2 separate regions of the Homo sapiens genome follow, and region 2 is linked to region 1. The links are contacts of gene promoters, found by promoter capture Hi-C in human tissues and cell types (Jung and others, 2019). All regions are on one chromosome and are shown on one strand. The core of a region is centred on a gene start or on the middle of the fragment in contact, and the rest is flanking DNA. Distances in the headings are between cores, read along the strand shown.

Evidence for each region. The method cuts DNA at HindIII sites, captures the fragments that hold promoters and counts their contacts. A contact is called where the count stands out against the background at its distance.
Region 2: a fragment that was not itself captured here is called in contact with the fragment with the promoter of TMEM109 in region 1 in 1 of the 25 tissues and cell types used here (small bowel).

Annotation. Positions count from the first base shown.
Region 1 is chr11:60,909,495-60,915,889 of GRCh38, forward strand. TMEM109 (transmembrane protein 109) reads left to right here and starts at 4,664. Exons shown (of 4, transcript NM_024092.3): 1 at 4,664-4,774. It overlaps TMEM109-DT (TMEM109 divergent transcript), which reads right to left and starts at 4,569. Exons shown (of 2, transcript NR_186356.1): 1 at 4,466-4,569; 2 at 3,672-3,983. It overlaps PRPF19-DT (PRPF19 divergent transcript), which reads left to right. Exons shown (of 2, transcript NR_186697.1): 2 at 1-1,406. RefSeq lists enhancers at 366-415, 1,126-1,435, 2,903-3,901, 4,900-5,898, 5,293-5,462 and a silencer at 4,953-5,112. The HindIII fragment of the contact is 7,495 bases long and covers 192-6,395 here.
Region 2 is chr11:59,673,265-59,680,007 of GRCh38, forward strand. PATL1-DT (PATL1 divergent transcript) reads left to right here. Exons shown (of 4, transcript NR_187296.1): 2 at 312-423; 3 at 1,663-1,709; 4 at 2,133-2,777. Among named protein-coding and RNA genes, the nearest start is that of PATL1-DT, 7.3 kb to the left of the region's middle. The HindIII fragment of the contact is 4,352 bases long and covers 2,349-6,700 here.

The sequences.
Region 1 (6,395 bases), core at 3,414-5,913:
ACAACACCCAGAACCAATGATTCCTCCCTGTGGTACCAAGAAGACCTAGACATGATCGGAACCTAAATGCTGGAACTCTTTCAGGAGCAAAGGGTCTGTTGACCAGAAAGATCCAGGGGTAAAATCCACCTCAACATACCCGTGTAGTCAAATTTGACACCCTCCAATCAGACCCTGCCAAGCCAAAATTCCTAATACGTTTCCTTGCCATCTGTATTAGTCTGTTTTCACGCTGCTGACAAAGACATACCTGAGACTGGACAATTTACAAAAGAGGTTTAATTGGACTTACAGTTCCACGTGGCTGGGGAAACCTCACAATCATGGCAGAAGGCAAGGAGGAGCAAGTCACATCTTACATGGATGGCAGCAGGCAAAAACAAAGAGCTTGTACAGGGAAACTCCTGTTTCTCAAAACCATCAGACCTCATGAGACTTATTCACTATCACAAGAACAGCACAAGAAAGACCTGCCCCTATGATTCAATTATCTCCCACTGGGTCCCTCCCACAACATGTGAGAATTCAAGATGAGATTTGGGTGGGGACACAGCCAAACCATATCACCCTCTGACCCCTTAAATCTTGCCCCAGACCCCAAATTAGGAGACAGATGTGAGCCATGCCTCCAGTCTCCTTGCTGGGTGGCCCTGCAATAAAGCCTTTCTGTTCTCAAAAGCTGGTACCATAGTATTGGCTTCTATGTGCATCAGGCAGTGAGCCTATTTGCTCAGAAACAATACTAAAGCACCATACTTTGGGGTATCATTCTCTGAGCCCCAACCAGGGGTCATTCCTGAGGCCATGAATGAGGGAGAGAGTTTCTGGCTGAGGAAACTTGCCCGTAAGTCTTGCACCATCTGGCCCATGCTGACCATCACAGTCTCACTTTATCTTCTTTCCAGCCACATTGGCCTTTCAGTTCCTCAAACATACCCGCGCTGGCTGGTTTCAGAACTTCTGCCTGGATCACTGTCCTCTCCCCCCTCCCTCTTCCCCCTCCTGTCTCAAACCCTCCAATGTAAACTTCAGTCTCACCTTAAATGTCACTTCCTCTGGAGCCCTTTTCATGGTCCCTGGTTTAAATTTAGTCCATACAGCAAACTGTGATTGTCCTCCAAACCACTTCAAAGAACTGTAATCATTTAATTATCTATTTATAAGTATCTGATGTCTGGGTTCTTCACTAGACTGTAAACTTCATGATGGCAGGAACCATAATTGTTCTGGTTACTCTTGCTCTCAAGAGTGTAAGAGTGCCACATTGTGCCTGGCACATAGCAGGAACTTTATGATGATTGTTGGTTGGAAGACAGGTTGCCTGACAGGCCAGTCATCTCAACTACTGTACTTGGATGTGTGGTTGGAAATAAAATGGATCCGTTTAGGAGAGGCCTTGAACCCAAGGTGGTAAAACTTGGGTGGTGATTGGGCTGGCAGCACAACAGCATGTGTTTGCATTTGAGCTATGGAGTGATAACCATACTTTCAGAAGTTTCCTCTGGAAGACACTTACTGGATGGGTTGGAGTGGGACAGACTAGAAGGAGGGAGACTCAGTAATTAATTGTTGAACCAATCTTTATTGAGTACCCATAGCGTGTCAGCCCGGCACGATACTAGGTGTTGGTAGTATCACAATGAGCAAAACCAGAGGTGTCCCTCTACTGGGGAGTTTATGGCTATGATAGCAGGATGCAGGAAAAAGGAAGTCCTGTCAAGGCTTTTCCGTTTCATAAGCCAGCCCACAGGGAATAGAAAAAATTCAGGGCACTTGGTTTCAGAGAAACAGGGAGAGTTAAGGGAAAAGAGATATATGCATTGGTGCTGGTGGGTCCCTGAGGAAGGAACTCTATGCCTTGTTCCTCCCAGACCAAAGCTGCTGTTGCTGCCTGGGGAGCATGGGGACACATTGGCCAAAGACCCAAAAGAAGCTTAATTTCCCAGGTATCTTCAGTAGCAATCTGTGTGGATAAGTGACAGAAGATTAGTCAGGGAGAAGTTGCCAGCTTAAACAACTGACACTGATAATTAGATGAATTTTCTTTTTTTCTTTTTTTTTACATGGAGTCTCACTCACTGTCACCCAGCTGGAGAGCAGTGGCGTGATCTTGGCTCACTGCAACCTCTGCCTTCTGGATTTAAGTGATTCTCCTGCCTCAGCCTCCTGAGTAGGGATTACAGCACACACCACCACACCTGGCTAGTTTTGTTTGGTATTTTTAGAGAGACAGGGTTTCATCATTTTGGCTAGGCTGGACTTGAACTCTTTCACCTCAAGTGATCCCTCTGCCTCAGTCTCCCAAAGTGCTGGGATTACAGGTGTGAGCCATTGCCCCCGGCCAGGATTAGATACATTTTCTCCCCCAACTTTGGCCCTATATTCATTTTCCAAAAGGTGTCTACGACCTGAAAATCAAGGATGGGAAGAACCCTGAACTGTCTGAGACTGTTTCTACTACCCACATGGAAAAGAGAGTTGAAAAGAAATTAATTTGTCATAGAAAAAAAAAAAGGTTAAATTTCTTTCCCAGGAAAGTCTGTGACCTGAGATTGTTAATCTTAGACATCAGAAAGGATCGCACAAGCAAATGTAAAATTGAAACTGTTAGAAAAGCTGGAAGGTGAGGTTTAGGATGCTACCAGAGCCTGTCCTGGAAGAAGGACTCTTAGCTGAGGGGCAGGAAGTGACAAGAGCTCAGATGAAGATGGATGTGTCTGAGGAACATCTGATGGAAAGAAACAACTGGGTGAGGTGACAGATTGGGAGCCTACAGAGTGTGTACTCTAGGAGGAAGGCAGAACTGGAAGGCTGAATGGTTGGGGGTGGGAGGGAAGAGTTACGTTTTAGAGGGTTGAGTTTGAGAAACAAGTTTTAACATCAAAAGGAAGCTCTCCTATGACAGCTCTTGATGGTGATAAAAACATTCAGTCAGCAACCTGGATTTTTTTTTTTTTTTTTAATGTTCATGCTTGTTGCTTCCTTGAAACTTCACACCTACTGTGAAGTGGTATTTTTAGGTCCTTTATAGTTCTTGAACGTCAAGCAATGAAGGCTCAGAGAAATGAAGCTGTGTGCTCAGGATCACACGACAGGCAAGAGATCACCTCATTCTGAAGCCCTGTTCATTCTCCTTCACGGTGCTGCTGAAGCAGGATATTGCCCTGACCTTTCACAGGACTCACAACAGGGGTGCCCCGTTTACTCAGCCCGCTGCTCTCAACTCCTCATGGGAGGGAGTACGCAAGTGAACAAGGCGGGAACTGGAGTGCACAAGCGCTGGAACAAGCCAGCCGTTTTTCAGCACCAGTGGGATCACACTCCACTCACTCAAGATTCACCGCGTTCCACCCCTCATAGGAGGGAGCGTGCAGGTGAGTGGGTGCAGGAGCCAGAGCGTGCGCTTTTGGACACCGGCAGGAGCGAACTCCGTGCAGGCCCCGGGGCAGTGTCCAGGCAGAGTGCCTGAGGCTCCTGAAGCCCCAGAGGGCATGTTACAGTGTTCTTTTGGCTCTGTCGTCCGTGGACAGCTTAAGTGTTAACAGCTCCGTGGGCCCGCGGTTGCCCTCCACCAGCAAGGGCAGAGGGCCAGCGTGACAGCTTTTGTATCCGCACTCGTGGCTCCCGAGCTCTTGTCCAGCGTCCAAGAAAAATAAAGCTGCACGAACAAATTAAAGGACAAATGCCTGGGATTTTATTGCTGATCAAAGTGGATTTCAGAGGGAAGGTGAGCTGAAAAGAGGGGGGTGGGACAGGCCGGTATGTAGTCTTCCCTTGAAGTCCAGCTATCTCCAGCCAGATTCGTCTCAGAAGTTACGCCTTAAGCTGTCCCTCTGAAGACAAGCTGCTTCTCTCTGACATCCAGCCATGGTCGTCCCCTCATCCAGCTGCTTCTCCTCTCTGCCAGATGAGTCTGGGGTCTTTCTAGGCACAGGATGAGGCAGGGCAGAGCCATGGGTGGCTTAGGAAAAGGCAACATTCAACTGGAAAAACATGGATAGAAGTTCTCACTTTGGGCCATGGTTTCAGGCTTTTTGGCTTGAGGGTGGGGTTTCACCAGGGACCCGCTCTTTTCTACCTAGCATTTATCTGCCTCCTGTCCCTATGCACTGCCTTTGTGGCAGAAAAAGGAGAGTGAGAGTTGGTTCCTCTCTTTCTCTGAAATTCTGAGCTAACATTTGGGAGCCGTCTACAGTATTCAGGTATGAATTTTCTCTCTGGGGGAGCGCATTCGTTTTCCTAGAGCAGTGTGCTTTTAATTGCTCCTTTAATATCTTTCTCTTTTGTGCCTTTTTAGCGCGAAAAGTGTATGGGAAGACTAGGTGCTCGTTAGCGGCTCGGTTAGAACTACATTGCCCACAATGCCCCAGGGAACATTTGTAGCTCTAGAACTACATGACCCAAAATGCCGAGTGGTGGCAAGAGGAGGATTAGCTTCCACTCCGATTTCAAAGATCCAGTTTACCCACTCTACAGCCCAGATATAGTCACTTATTTCCCCTTTCCAGCCAGAGACTTCCGTTCCCTGCTGGAACTTCCGATCCCATTCTTCTCTCGGTGGGAATGCTTGTGGGGGGAAAAAGAAACGCAATAGATAAAGCGGGGCGCATGCGCTCCCGGCACAGGCTTCGATTGTGAGGAAGGCCGGCTAGTCTCCGAGCTCATCCCGCCTTGCGCATGCGGAGAAGGTAAACCAGCGCCCCGAGTTGAGGCGCGGGTTTGGTGGCGCGTTTCAGCGAAGTCGCACGTGAAGGATAGCAGTGGCCTGAGAAAGGTGAGAGCGGGCCGAGGTCGGAATGTGGGGCAGCGCACGGGAAGGGGAGACAGCAGCCGCTGCAGGCGGCACCAGGCGGAGCCGCGAGGCCTGGAGAGTCCGAGTGGGGAGGGGTCCGCGCGCCCAGCGTGCGAAACAAACCGGGGACCCGGATCCCCGTTGCTATGCAACCGGGGGCGTCGTTTCCAGGCAACCCGGGAGGCGCACGTTTCCGGGGAGAAGAGGGTTGCGGCGAGGTTCCGAGGTCCGGCAGAGGTGGAGCGGCTCCCGGGCGTGGGGACCAGGCCAGCGCCAAGCCCGAGCCCCCGAACCCCGACCCACGGCCCAGCCTCCTGCAGCCTCGGCTCGAGCCCTTCGGGGGGCCCCAAACTCATGGGTCGCGCCACGTTCCTTGCCAGCGACGCTACCCCTCAGCGCTTGGCAGGGGACGCGCCGTTCGAAATAGCACATGCCACTGACACCCTGTCTCCGGGAGGCTGCGCCCCGGTTAGGGCGCGGAGCGGCAGGGAAGCTGCCCCTTTGCCGTCGCCCTGCCCCCAAACAGTTGCTGGGCAGCAGCTGTCAGGGGTTTAGTGGGAGCTGCCCCCAACCTGCCAGGGCGCTGACTTCATTCTCTGCAGTGGCGGCTTCGCCTTGTTTAGGACCTTCCTTTAGACTCAGCTGTGCTTCTCGTGTGGCTGCTGTATATTTGGATCTACTATTAAAATAACCTCCCTCCTCACCTCTCCATGGCTTTCTCGTTCGACCCTCACGGTTTCTTGGCAGGTTGCTAATATTCATTTAATAAACATTTATTAGTCATCTTTCCTACTAGGCGCTGGGGATTCCAACATGTCAAGTCTAACCGGGAGTCGCTCGGTCTACTGGGGAAGGCAGGTTGATAAACTGCTAAATTATGCTACGATATATAGTCAGTGGTAATGTGTGTGCTGCAACATTTCTATAGATGTTTAGTTTACAAAGCGCTTGCTGCAGAAATATCTTAACTCCTTACAGCAACTCTTCACCTGGGTTCACTCCCTTTTACGTTTGAGGAGACTGCAACTCAGGCAGGTTAAGTAACAGGCGTAAGGTAGTAGCTTCTAGTCCGTGGCACACTTGAGCCTGGGACGGAAGTCAGGGGTCCTTTGTACACTGCTGCACTTTTGAAGCTTTGCTTAGACTTTTCCCTGAGCTGCTGGCTATGCATCCGAAATTCCTGAGGAGCTTTGCAAAACAAAGGGCTGAGTCCCTCTCTGGAAGAGTCTGAGTGAGTAGCCCTGGGTGGGGCAGACGTCCTTGTTTAACAGGCTGCACAGGCAGTTCCGATGGGCAGCCAAAGTTGAGAACCGCCGCTCCTTAGGGGCAGCTATGAGCAGCGGCGGGACAGTCAGAGCCGGTAGAGGGCACTTTTTGCCGCCCCTCCTGCCACCTGGTGATTCATAGCATGAAATGAAACTAACAAAAGGAAAGAGAAGAGGAGGAAGGAGCCTTGATTGGGAGGGGGGGGCGCGAAATGCCCCATCCTACCCTTGTAGCAAACCACAGCTAAACATAAGCAGTGGCGCCTTCTCACTAACACAATAAGTAAAGCTGTTTCCCCAGCCAGGCTGGGCTCTCCAGACCCACCTGAGCCATATTG
Region 2 (6,743 bases), core at 3,275-5,774, 1.2 Mb before region 1:
TCTTAGGGGAAAAGAATTACCCATATAATAAAAATAACTGTTACAAGGCAAAATTTGTGATGGACTAAACATGGCCACAAATTCTTTGACAGTTCTCCCATTTAATAATTAACTGATTAGTTTTTATTATTTACTTTTCAGAGATGGGGTCTCACTCTGTTGCCCAGGCTGTAGTGCAATGGTGTGATTATAGTTCACAGCAGCCTCAAACCCCTGGGTTCGAGTGATTTTCCTGCCTCATCCTTCTGAATAGCTGGGGCTACAGGCACACACCACTATACCCAGCTTATTTATTTTTTATTTTTATAAAGACAGGGTCTCACTATGTTGCCCAGGCTGGTCTCAAACTCCTGGCCTCAGCCTCCTGCATAGCTGGGATTACAGGCGCAAACCAGCACACCCTGCTACTTCTCCCATTAGGAGGTAAGATCTATGTTCCCTTTTCCTTGAATCTGGACTGAGCTATGACTGCTTTGACTAATGGAATATGGAAGTGGAGATGCTCTGCCAGTTCTGGGTCACCTTTAAGAAGATTGGCAGTGTAAGTCCATGTAAAATACCCGGCTGCTTTGCTGAAGAGATCACATGGAAGGACCCTGAAATTACATAAAGAGGAAGGTGGGTCCAGCTCTATTTAGCTTATTAACCATCCCAGTCAAGACACCAGGTATGTGAATGAAGCTGTCTTGGACTCTTCACACCTGTTCAGCTACCAGCCAAACACTGTGACTCCATTCCATGCCATAAAGAGCGGAAGAATCACTCAGCAAAGCTGCTCCAAAATTCCTGGCCCATAGAAGTATTTTATATATATATATAAAATATAAAATACTTTATTATATATATTATATATATATATATAAAATAAAATGGTTGTAGTTTTAAGCCACAAATTGTATTGTTTGTTTTGTTTGTTTGTTGTTTTTTGAGAGGGCTGCAGTGCAATGGTGCAATCATAGCCCACTGCTACCTCAAACTCCTGGGCTTAAACCATTCCCCCACCTCAGCCTCCCCAGTAGCCAAGCCTTCAGGCACGTGCCACCACATGTGGCTATATATATATATGTACATTTCAACCACAAAGTTTTAGAGTAGTTTATTGCTCACTAATAGATAGTGGGAATGTGTCCGTTTAGAAAAATTATACAAAACTTGGAAATAAGGAAAAAGGATTGTTGTGTGCCTTGCAATGTTGTAATAAGAACATTATCTAACAAGCCTGCCTAAAGGTCATTTAAAGTTCTACAGAGAGGTAACCTTGTTTGACTTAGTGTTTATTATTAATTAATGAGATCCCAGACTCAGTAAAGTTAGATATTAGTTTATAGAAGATTAACAAGTTGCAAATTATTTTTGTCCAGTGGAGATAATTTCATTTTGGTGGGAAAGATCATCTCAAAGGAGACAGTTTTATTGCCACACAGGACATTAACCAATAATATATTTAACTTTTGAGTCTTAATTCAGCCATTTCCCCCACTATATAGTTCATAGTTTCTTGTGTCCTCCTTTGAATCAGCTTCACCACCTTGCTGTTTCTTTTCATTAATAAGATAAATAAATATTTTGACACATGCTCATAATGTAATTGAAAGAGAATAATTTTTATTTAGCTTTTTGAAAGTTATACTTTGGCAAACTATTAAACTTTTTTTTTTGCAGGGGATTCAACTCAATACGTATTTATCGAGAATCTATTATGTAAAATGGTGAGAAGTGATATCTATATTATAGCCTACTGTGCAATAGCATTATGTCTTTAAAAACGCAATGTACATACCTTAATTAAAAAATGCTTTATTGCTAAAAATGCTAATGATCATCTAAGCCTTTAGCGAATTTTAATCTTTTTCCTGATGGAGGGTCTTGCCTCGATGTTGATAGCTGCTTACTGATAAAGGCAGTGGTTGCTGAAGGTTGGGGTGGCTATGGTAATTTCTTAAAATAAGACAAGGAAGTAAGCCACCTCGATTGACTTTTCCTTTCATGACGGAAAAGTTTCTCTGTAGCATGCAGCGCTGTTTGGCATTTTACCCATGAATTAGAACTTTCAAAATTGGAGGCAATTCTCTCAAACACTGCTTTATCAACTAAGCTTGTGTAATACTCTAAATCCTTTATTATCATTTCAGCAATGTTCACAGCATCTTCACCGGGAGAAGATTCTATCTTAAGGAAACTCTTTTCTCATGCATAAGAAGCACCTCCTTACCTGTTAAAAGTTTAATCATGAGATTGCAGGAATTCAGTCACATCTTCAGGCTCCACTTCTAATTCTAGTTCTCTTGGTATTCCACCGCACCTGCAGTGACTTCCTCCACCGAAGTCTTGAACCTCTCAAAGTCATCCATGAGGGTTGGAATCAACTTCTTCCAAAGTCCTGTTAATGTTTGTAGTGTTATGAAATATATATACATATAGGTTTTCATACACAGGAAACAGAATCTCTTTGACCTTCTCTTGCCTTCCTTTTACCTGCCTTCCTTTCACCTACCCCAAAGCAGGACTCTAATCTTCTGCTTTTATAATTGTGGATCATAAGACTCATTTCAGAGAGGGTCCCAACCCATGGCCTGGGGGAAGGAATGCTGATATAATGAAGCTTCCATAAAAATCCAAGAGGACAGCTTCCTGATAGCTGAACAAGTGGAGGTTTCTGGGGAATGGCTACCTGGGGAGGGCATGGGAGCTCCGTGTCCCTTCCTCCATACCTCTCCCTGTGCATCTCTTCATCTGGATCCTTCGTGATATCCTTTATAATAAACTGGTAAATATAAGTGTTTCCTTAGTTCTGTGAGCCACTCCAGCAAATTATTGAACCCAAAGAGGGGGTCATGGGAACCTCAACTTGAAGCTGATTGATCAGAAGTTCCAGAGACCTGGACTTGCAACTGGTGTCTGGGGGGAGGAGGGAGTAATCTTGGGGACTGAGCCCTTTACCTGTGGGAACTGACATATCTCCAGGTAGTGTCAGAATCGAATTGGAGGATACCCAGCTGGTCTCCACTGCTTGTTGGTGGGGAAAATCCCCCATATATTTGGTCACAGAAGTCTTCTGTGTTGATTGTTGTGGTGTGAGAGCAGAGGACAAATGCAGTTTAAGTTTTTCCATGACAATGTTGATACTTTGACCCCTTCCTATGACTCACAAATGTTCTTTTTGCGGGCAGGGGGCAAACAAGTGCAGTGGCACGATCTCGACTCACTGCAACCTCCACCTCCTGGGCTCAAGCCATTCTCCCATCTCAGCCTCCCAAGTAGCTGGGGCTATAGGCGGGCACCATCATGCCCGGCTAATTTTTGTATTTTTTGTAGGGACAGGGCTTCGCCACGCTGCCTGTACCTGGCTTCACAAATGTTCTTAATGGCATTTAGGATGGTAAATCCTTTCCAGGTTTTTTTGTTTTGTTTTGTTTTCCTTTATCTAGTCATCCAGAAGTATCCAGAAGGTTTTCAATTTCTTTTGCCCAGATCCATCAAAGGAATCATTATCTATGACAGCTATAGCCTTACAAAATGTATTTCTGAAATAATAAGACTTGAAAGTTGAAATTGCTGTGTGGGCTGCAGAATGGATGTTGTGTTAGCAGGCCTGAAAACGATTAATCTTGTACATCTCCATCAGAGTTCTTGGGTGACCAGCTGCATTGTCAATGAGCAGTAGTATTTTAAAATAAACCAGTTTTTTTTTTTTTTTTTTTTTTTGAGTAGTAGGTTTCAGCAGTGGGCTTTAAATATTCAGTAAATCACGCTGTAAATGGATGTGCTGTTGCTATCCAGGCTTTATTGTTTCATTTACAGAGCAGAGGCCGGGTAGATTTAGCATAATTCTTAAGGAACCTAAGATTTTTTAGAAGGACAAATAAGCATTGACTTCAACTTAAAGTCACCAGCTGCACTAGCCCCTGACAAGGGAGTCAGCCTGCCCTTTGAAGCTTTGAACCTAGGCATTGAAAGTCCTAGATGGTATCTTCTTCCAATAATATAAGGCCATTTTGTCTGCATTGAAAATCTGTTGATGTAGCCACCTTCATCAATGATGAAGCTAGATCTTCTGGATGACTTGCTGGAGCTTCTACATCAAGCACTTGCTGCTTTACTGTGTACTTTTATGTTATGGAGGTGGCTTCTTTCCTTAAACCTCATGAACCAAGCTCTGCTAGCTCCAAACTTTTCTTCTGCAGCTTCCTCACCTCTCTCCACCTTCATAGAATTGAGAGAGTTAGGGTGTCTGGATTAGGATCTGGCTTAAGGGAATGTTGTGGCTAGTTTGATCTTTTATCCAGACCACTGAAAGTTTCTCCATAACAGCAATAATGCTGTTTTACTTTCCTACCATTTGTATGTTCACTGGAGTAGCATTTTTAAATCCTTTCAAGAGCTTTTCCTTTGCATTCACAACTTGGCTAGCTTCTTGGCCCAAAGGCCTAGTTTTTGGCCCATCTTGCTTTTGACATGCCTTCCTCACTAAGCTTAATCATTTCTAGCTTTTGATTTAAAGTGAGAGATGTGTGACTCTTTCTTTCACTTGAACACTTAAAGGTGATTGTGAGGTTATTAATTGGCCTAATTTCAATATAGTTGTGTCGCAGGGAATAGGGAGGCCCAAAGAGAGGGAGAAAGATGAGGGAACAGCTAGTCAGTGGAACACACACAACACTTAGTAAGTTCACCGTCTTATAAGGGTGCAGTTCCTGGTGCCCCAAAACAATTAAAATAGTAACATTAAAGATGACTGAACACATATCACTATAATAGATGTAATAAAAAGTTTGAAATATTGTGAGAATTACCAAAATGTGAGACAGAGACGTGAAGTGAACACATGCTGTTGGGAAAATGGTGCTGATAGACCTGCTCAATGTAAGGTTGCCAAAATTTTTCGATTTGTAAAAAACACAATTATCTGTGAAGTATAATAAAATGAGGTGTTAGGTTGTTGTTGTTTCTGTAACAAAATTATATTTCTATAGGTCGGAATTTTAAAATGGGTTACAGAACTACATTTCTTCCTTGAGGCCACTAGGGGAGAATTTGTTTTTTGTTGTTTGTTTTTAGCTTCCAGAGGTTACTTGCATTTCTTGGCTTGTAGCCCTATCCTCCATTTTCAAAGTCAGCAGCATAAATCTTCCAAACTCTTTCTCTCTCTGCTTTTGTTATCATACTTTTCTCTTCAATTCTCCTGCTCCTTTGTTATAAAGATCCTGTGATAACATTGTGTGCACCCAGATAATACAGGATAATCTCCCCATCTCAGGATTCTTAATTTAATCATATCTACCAAATCCCTTTTACCATGTAAAATAATATATTCACAGGTTCTTGGAATTAGGACATGGAAATATTTGGGGAGCCATTTTTTAGCCTATGGTATGTATGTGGTATGTATGAGTCATTGGGGTATAAAAAATGATTTCTGGTAGTATAATGAGAAAAAATTTTAAGGTTTAAGTTTGTGTTTTATGTGCTGCTTAGAGATGAATAATGAAGATGTCACTAGGTGAACTATGTCAATGGTTTCTGTGTTCATTTCAGTAACTCCCAAGACAACTGGGGCTATGTTCACTAACATGCTGTTAGTTATATATTGCTGCATACAAAACTACCCTAAAATTTAGCAGTGATATGGTTTGGTTGTATCCCCACCCAAAATCTCATCTTGAATTTTAATCCCCATAATCCCCATATGTCAAGGGAGAGAACAGCTGGAGGTAATTGAATAATGGGGGTGGTTTCCCTCATGCTGTTCTCATCATAATAAGTGAGTTCTCACAAGATCTGATGGTTTTATGTGTTTGGTAGTTCCTCCTGCATTCATTCTGCGTCCCACCACCTTGTGAAGGAGGTGCGTTGCTTCCCCTTCACCTTCCGCCATGATTGTAAGTTTCCTGAGGCCTCCCCAGCCATGCAGAACTGTGAGTCAATTGAACCTCTTTCCTTTGTAAATTACCCAGTCCCGGGCAGTTCTTTATAGGAGTGTGAAAATGGACTAATACAAGCACTTAAAACAAAAATAAGTTATTATCTCACAAAGATTTTGGGGGTCAGGAACTGGGAGCAGCTTAGCTAGGTGGTTCTGGCTCAGAGTGTTTCAGGAGATTGCAGTCTGAATGTTGGCTGGGGCTCCAGACACCTGAAGTCTTGACTAGCAGTGGAGAATCTGTCCTCAAGATGGTTCACTTACATGGCTGTTAGCAAGAGGTGTCAGTTCCTCTCTGGCTGTTCATAGGAGATCTCAGTTCCTTACTACATTAGCATCTCCATAGGGCTTCTTGATTGTCCTCAGGACATGGTAGCTTCTTTTACAGTGAGTAATCTGAGGTAGAAGCTAAAGCCACAATATCTTTTATGACCCACCCTCAGAAGTCACACACTGTCACTTCTGCCACATTCTATGTACTAGAAATAAGTTACTAGGTACAACCCATATTCAAAGGGAGAGGAATTAGGCTCCACTGTGTAAAGGGAGGAGTTTCAAAGAATTTGTGGACATATTTTATAGAACCACCACAGCCTACTTGAAGAAGAACAACAGACCTTTTAATCATGGCAAATTTTCTGGACAGATAAATAGATTCTAGGGTTGGAATGATGTCAGCAAGATGGTGGTATAGGAGGTCACCTGCTTTTATCCCCCAACAATAAGAATTCTTCACCCATCCAGACAAAAAAGTCTCTTTGTGGAAGCCTCACGATTCAGGTAGAAAGTTGTGGAAGCCCAATGGAGCCTAAGACCTAGGAGG